3 separate regions of the Homo sapiens genome follow, and all the other regions are linked to region 3. The links are contacts of gene promoters, found by promoter capture Hi-C in human tissues and cell types (Jung and others, 2019). All regions are on one chromosome and are shown on one strand. Each heading gives the region's core, a stretch centred on a gene start or on the middle of the fragment in contact. The rest is flanking DNA. Distances are from core to core; before and after follow the strand shown.

Evidence for each region. The method cuts DNA at HindIII sites, captures the fragments that hold promoters and counts their contacts. A contact is called where the count stands out against the background at its distance.
Region 1: a contact is called between a fragment that was not itself captured here and the fragment with the promoter of YY1 in region 3, in 1 of the 25 tissues and cell types used here (IMR-90 fibroblasts).
Region 2: a fragment that was not itself captured here is called in contact with the fragment with the promoter of YY1 in region 3 in 1 of the 25 tissues and cell types used here (heart right ventricle).

What each region holds. Positions count from the first base shown.
Region 1 is chr14:99,980,573-99,983,272 of GRCh38, forward strand. It overlaps a transcript of EVL not described here. Among named protein-coding and RNA genes, the nearest start is that of EVL, 83 kb to the right of the region's middle. The HindIII fragment of the contact is 8,150 bases long and covers 1-2,700 here.
Region 2 is chr14:99,922,474-99,925,186 of GRCh38, forward strand. All of the region lies in intron 17 of EML1 (EMAP like 1), which reads left to right. Among named protein-coding and RNA genes, the nearest start is that of EML1, 130 kb to the left of the region's middle. The HindIII fragment of the contact is 6,286 bases long and covers 1-2,713 here.
Region 3 is chr14:100,237,858-100,240,557 of GRCh38, forward strand. It overlaps YY1 (YY1 transcription factor), which reads left to right and starts at 1,287. Exons shown (of 5, transcript NM_003403.5): 1 at 1,287-2,066. The coding sequence starts at 1,388. It overlaps YY1-DT (YY1 divergent transcript), which reads right to left and starts at 764. Exons shown (of 2, transcript NR_189150.1): 1 at 614-764. RefSeq lists enhancers at 349-1,201, 2,039-2,198 and silencers at 439-1,038, 1,099-1,178, 1,329-1,398, 1,889-1,938, 2,209-2,700. The HindIII fragment of the contact is 4,615 bases long and covers 1-2,700 here.

The DNA.
Region 1 (2,700 bases), core at 104-2,603, 260 kb before region 3:
AAATACACAGGTACAAACAGTCTCCATTTCTCACCCTTAGCCTATACTAGCTATCACAGTTGGGTCCAAATATATTTCTGAACCCAGTGCTGCAAATTGCAGGTACGGGGCATTTCCTAAGGTGGCTTTTGTAAGGGCTATAGGGATTCCGTGTGTATCTTTCCAGGCTCTCTTGTTCTGTCTGCCTGTTTTTAGGCCTATGCCATTACCATATTTACCTTGTGGGCAGTGATTTTAATTTGAGCGGCATCATTGATTAATGTTATTTTGAATTTTGCTGGTTTGGTGATTTTGTTTGTATTTAATTTATAAGTTTGTTTTTTGCTTATCTAGTTATATAAACATAAGACATTTAAACTTAGTTTTATAGTTGTGTATATAAGCTGGGTGTGGTGTCACATGCCTGTAATCCCAGCTACTCGGGAGGCTGAGCAGAAGGATGGCTTGAGGCCAAAAGTTTGAGACCGGCGGCGGTGGGCAACATATTGAGATCCTATCTCAAAAAAAAAAAAAAGTGTAGGCATCTGCTTTTTAGGCTTTTGGCTAGCACTTCTGTTGATTAAGAAAAATAATAGGCCAGGCATGGTGACTCACACCTGTAATCCCAGCACTTTGGGAGTTTGAGGCAGTGGATTGATCACCTGAGGTCAGGAGTTGGAGACCAGCTTGGCTAACATGGTGAAACCCCATCTCTACTAAAAATACAAAAATTAGCCAGGCGTGGTGGCGGGCGCCTGTAATCCCATCTACTTGGGAGGCTGAGGCAGAAGAATTGCTTGAACCCGGGATGGGGAGGTTGCAGGAGCCGAGATCATGTCATTGCACTCCGGCCTGGGCAACAGAGTGAAACTGTCTCAAAAATAAAATTAAAAAAAAGAAAAGTAACAATTATATATATAAGCTGAATGAATATAAATTAAATCATATTGTTTCACATACAGATTTTTCCCCTTTAAAGAGAATATGTGTACTGCCCATGTTTGAGGAACCTTGCAGTAGACTTACCCTGGAGATACAGTGGGTGCACAATAAAGCAGTAAAGCAAATATTGTAAGAAAGCAAGTCACATGAATTTTTTTGTTTCCAAGTGCATATAGAAGTTATGTTTACACTATACCATAGTCTGTTAAGTATGCAGTAGCACTATGTCTAGAAAATGTACATACCTTCATTAGAAAATACCTTATTGCTTAAAAATGCTAGCAAAGTGAGCATAGGGTATTGGAAAAAATGATGTCAATAGATTTGCTCAGGGCAGTTGCTACAAACCTTCAATTGGTAAAAAACGCAATACCTGTGAAGCTCAATAAAGTGAAGCCCAATGAAACGAGGTCTGTCTGGATAAGCTTGATGAAGGGACTCTTGAGTTGCCACATGAATGTATCGCAAGTGCTGCAGTAAGAGTGGTGGTAACTCAGGGGAAAGCACTTCCAGCTGATGTCGGGGTGAGGGTGAGAAGAGTGGCCGGTCCCTTCATGAAACAGTTAAGGAGAGTATGAAAACAGAATGGTATGATATAAAGAAGACAATACAGATAAGCATTGATCCTGCTCTTTACAGATAACCACATCAAACCTGTGGTGTAGTTCCTTTATCATTCCCAGGTACAAGTGAAACATTTTTACAAAATTGAAAGTGTACTGTATATTTGTATTGGGCATTGTACATTTGATATATGTGCACTTCCCCCTTACTAAATATTCTTTGAAAACAGCTAAATATTCTTTGAAAACAGTTAAAATAGCTGAATAATAGTCTGTCAGATGGTATACTATAATTTATTCGTAATATATATTTTAATGGTATTTTTGGGACCAAAGGGTATAAACATTTTAAAGGCTATCAATATATACTACCAGAATGTTAATTTTAAAGAAGAAGAAGATAAAGTTAGTGAATAGAAGTTTAATCCTAGAGGTTTAACTTGGAGGTTCTCCCAAAAACAAGCACCAAAGGAAGGACTTTGGAAAGGAATCAGGAGAGAGAAGTAAATGGGGTTAAGAGGGAGAGCGGGGGGAAAAAATACTGTACTTTGAAATGGTGTAGTTCTGTCTGCTCACCAGGGGAGGGAGCCCTGTTCCCAGTTCCTCTGTGAGCGATTCATACGAAGATGCATTGTCTTTGTCTTTAGGGCTGTGTGAAAGACATCTACTCTTCAGTTTGCAGTTAATGTAGGTATGTAAAGGGACTTCTTAAAAAGAATTTGAGTTAGATTTAAAATGTTTTAGTTTAATTTAACCCCTGTATACTGAGCAGCCTGGGTTTTAGAGTCAGACCTGGATTCTGCCCCAGAGGTACTACTTATCAGCTGACTTTTAGCAATTTACGTAACCTTTATGAGCCTCCGTTTTTCTCAAGTATAAATGAGGACAGTTCACTTTCTTCAGAGGGTTTTGTGAGGATCAAATGAGAATACATGAGAAGTTCTCAGCTTATGATATTCAGTAAAGGTTAGTTATCTGCCCTACTCCACCCCACCCCAGCCTCACCACCCTGTATTTATTTTCTAGGGTTTATCTTCCATGAGGATATGGGACAGTTCTGGTTTCAAATATTCTGCCCTTTTGTCAGATGACTATATGACTTCATATGTGATAAATTTTGGTTTAGAAACTGCAGTTGCTATTGATGCATCACCTTCTAAGAAAGATCCAGTGACATTCTCTATGAAAGATGAAATAGACAAAAGAAAGATAAAAC
Region 2 (2,713 bases), core at 96-2,595, 320 kb before region 3:
ATGTATATGCCTTTTTGTGTTTGTTTTCATTTCTCGGGTAAATTCTTAGGAGTGAAATTGACGGATTGTATGGTAAACTTATGTTTAACATTTTATGAAACTGCCAGACTGCCTGTCCTATTTTACATTCTCGTCAGCCATGTGCTAGGGTTCTAGTATCATCACATCCTCCCAATACTTGTTATTGTCCTTTTGATTATAGTCATTCTAAAGAGGGTGTAATGGCATCTCATTGTGGTTTTAATTGGTGTTTCCCTAATGACTATTGATATTGAGCATTTTTTAATGTGCATATTAGTCATTCCAATATCTTCTTTGGTGAAATATCTATTCAGATATTTTGCCAATTTTTAATTGGGCTGTTTGTCTTACTGTTGAGTAGTAAGTCCTCTTTATATATTCCGTATATACAGTCTTTATCAGATAGATGATTTGCAAATATTTTTTCTGAATGTATGGCTTATCTTTTTTTCTGTTTGTTTGTTTTTGAGACAGCATCTCACTCTGTCACCCAGGCTGGAGTGCACTGGCATGATCATGGCTCATTGCAGCCTTGACCTCAGGTCCAAGCAATCCTCTCACCTCAGCCTCCCAAGTAGCTGGGAACACAGGCACACACCACCACGTCTGGCTAATTTTTGTATTTTTGTTAGAGACAGGGTTTCGCCATGTTGCCCAGGCTGGTCTTGAACTCCTGGGCCCAAGTGATCTGCCTGCCTCGGCCTCCCAAAACTGCTGGGATTATAGGTGTGAGCCACCATGCCCAGCCTTCATTTTCTTAATGGGGTTTTTTAAAGCACAAAAGCTTTCAATTCTGATGAAGTTCAGTTTATCAATTTTTCCTTTTGTGGATCATGCCTTTGGGGTCGTATCCAAGATCATGAATATTTCCTTGTATGCTTTCTTTTAGAAGAGTTGTTTTAGCCCTTGCATTCGAGTCTATGATCCATTTGAGTTAATTACACAAGAGTTACAAGAGTACACTAGACTTGTTTCTTGTGGATGGTGAGAAGGAAGAGCCTGTTTGCTCTGCATAGAGGTATCTAGTTGTCCCAAGCACTTTTTGTTGAAAACACAGTCTTTCCCTGTTGAATTATCAATGACACTTTTGTCAAAAATCAATCGATCAGAAATGTAAAGGTTTATTTCCGGATACTCAGTTCTGCCCCCTTCACCTGTGTTTATCCCCGATTACTGTGACCTTAGAGGAAATTTTCAAATTGAGTAGTGTCACTGCTGCAAATTTGTTGTTTTTTTCAAAATAGTGTTGGCTATTTTAGGTTCCTACTATATGTAAAATTGTATATAAATTTTAGGATCAGCTTGTCTTTTTTTATTATTTTGTTTTTTGAAATTTTTTTGTAGACACAGGGTCTTACTTTGTGGCCCAGGCCGGTCTCAAACGCCTGGTCTCCAGAGATCGTCTCACTTCGGCCTCCCAAAGTGTTGGGATTACAGGTGTGAGGCACCACACTAGGCCAGCTCGTCAATTTCTAACTTTGAAAAGCCTGTTAGGATTGTAAGAGGGATTATGTTTAATTTACAGATCAATATGGGGGAAATTGCCACCTGGACAATAGTGGCTCTTATCATGAGCAAAGACTGTCTCTCCATTTATTTAGGTCTTTACTTTTTCTCAGCAATGCTTTATAGTTGTAGGTGTACAAGTCTTGCACTTCCTTTGTTAAATTTATTCCAAAATAAGTGTTTTTTTTATGCCATTGTGAATGGAATTGTTTTCTGAATTTTGTTTTCAGTTGGTTGGCTGCTAGTATGTAAAAATAGGATTGAATTTTGCACGTAGATCTTATATCCTATGACCTTTCTAAACTTCTTTGATTAGTTTTAGTATAATAGTCCCTCCCAATCCACAGGGGCTACCTTCCAAGACCCCACACAGGTGCCTGAAACTATGGATAACAACAAATGCTAAGTGTACTATGTTTCTTCCTATATATACTTGCCTATGGCAAAGTTAAATGTATAAATCAGGTACAGTAAGAGATTAATGACAATAATAATAAAGTAGAACAATATAACAATATATTGTAATAAGAGTTATGTGAATATGGTTTCTCTTTCAGAATACTGTATTATACGTAATATTTGCAGACCACAATTGACCACAGGTTACTGAAACCACAGAAAGTTGTTTCAGTCTTATTATATTATATTAATATCACTACATTTTATTAAGTTTCTTCTGTTTTTCTGAGGAGAAAAAGCATTCAGTCTTTCATCATGAGGGATAAAGATGCCCTTTATCATAGTGAGAAAGTTCCCTTCTATTTCTAATTTGTTTGGAGGTTTTAGCATGAATGGGGTTGGAGTTTATCAGATGCTTTTTCTGCATCTGTTGGGATTATTATGTGGGTTTCATCCTTCATCTTATTTTATTAATATCACTACATTTTATTAATTTTCAGATGTTGAACCAACTTCACATTCCTGTGGTAAATTCCCCTTAATCATGGTGTATAATCCCTTTTACATGTGTTTGCTAGGATTCTATTAAGGATTTTTGCCTCCATGTTTCTAACAGATATTGGTGTATAGTTTTCTTTTCTTGTGGCATCTTTGTCTGTCTCAGTTATGAGAGTACTACCGGCCTTACAGAGCAAATTAGGAAGTGTTCTCTCCTCTGTTTTCTGAAAGAGTTTGTGAAAAGTTGGTGTTATATTAAATATTTGACAGAATGTATGTGAATTTGGTG
Region 3 (2,700 bases), core at 37-2,536:
CCTGGTGGGCGTAAAAAGGAGCACCTATGAAAGTGACAAATAGGGGGAAAGGGTGGGCAAGGGAAACAATGGCTGACTGGAGAGCAAAGAAGGGGAAGCTCAGGAGAAAATTTTAGAAAGCCGCCAGGACCCTGTAGTTCTAAGATCTACGGGGAAACAGGCACCCAACGGCTGCGTCTCAGGTTTCCGCGGGTCACTAAAGAATAACGGACATCCTCCCAACGGTGGCCCTGGGGCTCCGCGGGCGCTTCCGCCGAGCTCGCGCCGACCCCGCGCTCGGCCCCGCACCCCGCCGGGCGCTCGCGGCGAGATACCGGACGCTGCCCGCGTCGCCCGATTTTGTCCGTTCGGTCCTCCACACTCACCCCGCGGCCATCGCTCGCCCGAAGCCAGGCGACAAGAACAAACACCTCCCGACGCGAAAAAGGAAGCACAGGCGATTCTCGTCAAAGCAGACTTTATTGGGGCGACAGGGCCGCCCCGCACGCGCCAGCCGCTCCCCGCGCGGCCCCCGGGCCGCCCACCCGCCTCAACCCCGCTCCCGGCCGGCCCCTCCCTCCCTTCTCCTCAGGCTCCCGCCCCCGTGGTGCCCGGGGCCGCGCGGACCGCTCACCGGCTCCCAAGGCAGCGGCTGTAGCGGCGACGCCCCGTTCCCGAGTGCGGCCCCGGCCCGAGGCGGCGGGTTTTGTGGCTGTTGCACCGCGAAGGGCGGCAGCCGCGCGACACCGGGAAGCGGGAGGCGGTGGCGGCGGCGGCGGCGCGCTGACGTCACGCGCCGCGGGCCAGCCAGGGCGCGTGCGAGCCGCCCCGCCCCCGGTCCCATCGGCCCCAATCCGGGAGGAGCCCGGCGAGTGGGCGGGGCCGCGGAGGCCAGCGGACAGATCGATTGGCCGAGAGGAGAATCGAGAGGGCGAACGGGCGAGTGGCAGCGAGGCGGGGCGGGCTGAGGCCAGCGCGGAAGTCTCGCGAGGCCGGGCCCGAGCAGAGTGTGGCGGCGGCGGCGAGATCTGGGCTCGGGTTGAGGAGTTGGTATTTGTGTGGAAGGAGGCGGAGGCGCAGGAGGAAGGGGGAAGCGGAGCGCCGGCCCGGAGGGCGGGAGGAGGCGCGGCCAGGGCGGGCGGTTGCGGCGAGGCGAGGCGAGGCGGGGAGCCGAGACGAGCAGCGGCCGAGCGAGCGCGGGCGCGGGCGCACCGAGGCGAGGGAGGCGGGGAAGCCCCGCCGCCGCCGCGGCGCCCGCCCCTTCCCCCGCCGCCCGCCCCCTCTCCCCCCGCCCGCTCGCCGCCTTCCTCCCTCTGCCTTCCTTCCCCACGGCCGGCCGCCTCCTCGCCCGCCCGCCCGCAGCCGAGGAGCCGAGGCCGCCGCGGCCGTGGCGGCGGAGCCCTCAGCCATGGCCTCGGGCGACACCCTCTACATCGCCACGGACGGCTCGGAGATGCCGGCCGAGATCGTGGAGCTGCACGAGATCGAGGTGGAGACCATCCCGGTGGAGACCATCGAGACCACAGTGGTGGGCGAGGAGGAGGAGGAGGACGACGACGACGAGGACGGCGGCGGTGGCGACCACGGCGGCGGGGGCGGCCACGGGCACGCCGGCCACCACCACCACCACCATCACCACCACCACCACCCGCCCATGATCGCTCTGCAGCCGCTGGTCACCGACGACCCGACCCAGGTGCACCACCACCAGGAGGTGATCCTGGTGCAGACGCGCGAGGAGGTGGTGGGCGGCGACGACTCGGACGGGCTGCGCGCCGAGGACGGCTTCGAGGATCAGATTCTCATCCCGGTGCCCGCGCCGGCCGGCGGCGACGACGACTACATTGAACAAACGCTGGTCACCGTGGCGGCGGCCGGCAAGAGCGGCGGCGGCGGCTCGTCGTCGTCGGGAGGCGGCCGCGTCAAGAAGGGCGGCGGCAAGAAGAGCGGCAAGAAGAGTTACCTCAGCGGCGGGGCCGGCGCGGCGGGCGGCGGCGGCGCCGACCCGGGCAACAAGAAGTGGGAGCAGAAGCAGGTGCAGATCAAGACCCTGGAGGGCGAGTTCTCGGTCACCATGTGGTCCTCAGGTGAGCGCCGGCCGCGCGCCCCGGCCCCGGGATGTTTTTGTTTTGAAGGGAAGCCATGTTTTATGTGTGTGATGGGCGCCGCCATCTTCTTCGCCAGGGCAAGTATGGCGGCCCCAAAAGATGGCGGGCCGTGCGGCGGCGGGGGCGCGGCGGCGGCGGCGGGCGGCGGGCCGCGAAGATGGCGGCAGGCCGCGGGGGGGAGGGGCCGGCGCCGCCCGGCTAGGCCGCAATGGCGTAGTTTCTCCGAGAGGGGGAAGCGCCGCGCGGGGCGGAGACGGCCGGGGGAGGGGCCGGCGCGCTCGCTCCCCGACGCCCTCGCTCCCCGCGCCCGCATCAACGGGCGCGCCCGCCGGCCCGTTGTGGCGGCAGCTGCGCGCCCCCGGCCCGGGCGGGACGCGGGAGGTCGTTGGCGGGGCTGCGCCGCGGCCTCGCGGGCCAGGGATTGCTGCCTCCGGGACGCGCGCCCCCGCCCCCGCCCGGCGCTGCCGTTACCCCATCGGCCGCTGGAGGGCGCCGCGGGCGCTTGCCCCGCCCGCCCCCAACTTCCCCGGACTCCCAACTGCTCCCCGGTGGCACCTTCCAGAAGGAGGGGGCTTGGCACTCGTGGGCGCCCTCCGGCCTCCTTGCTCCCCGC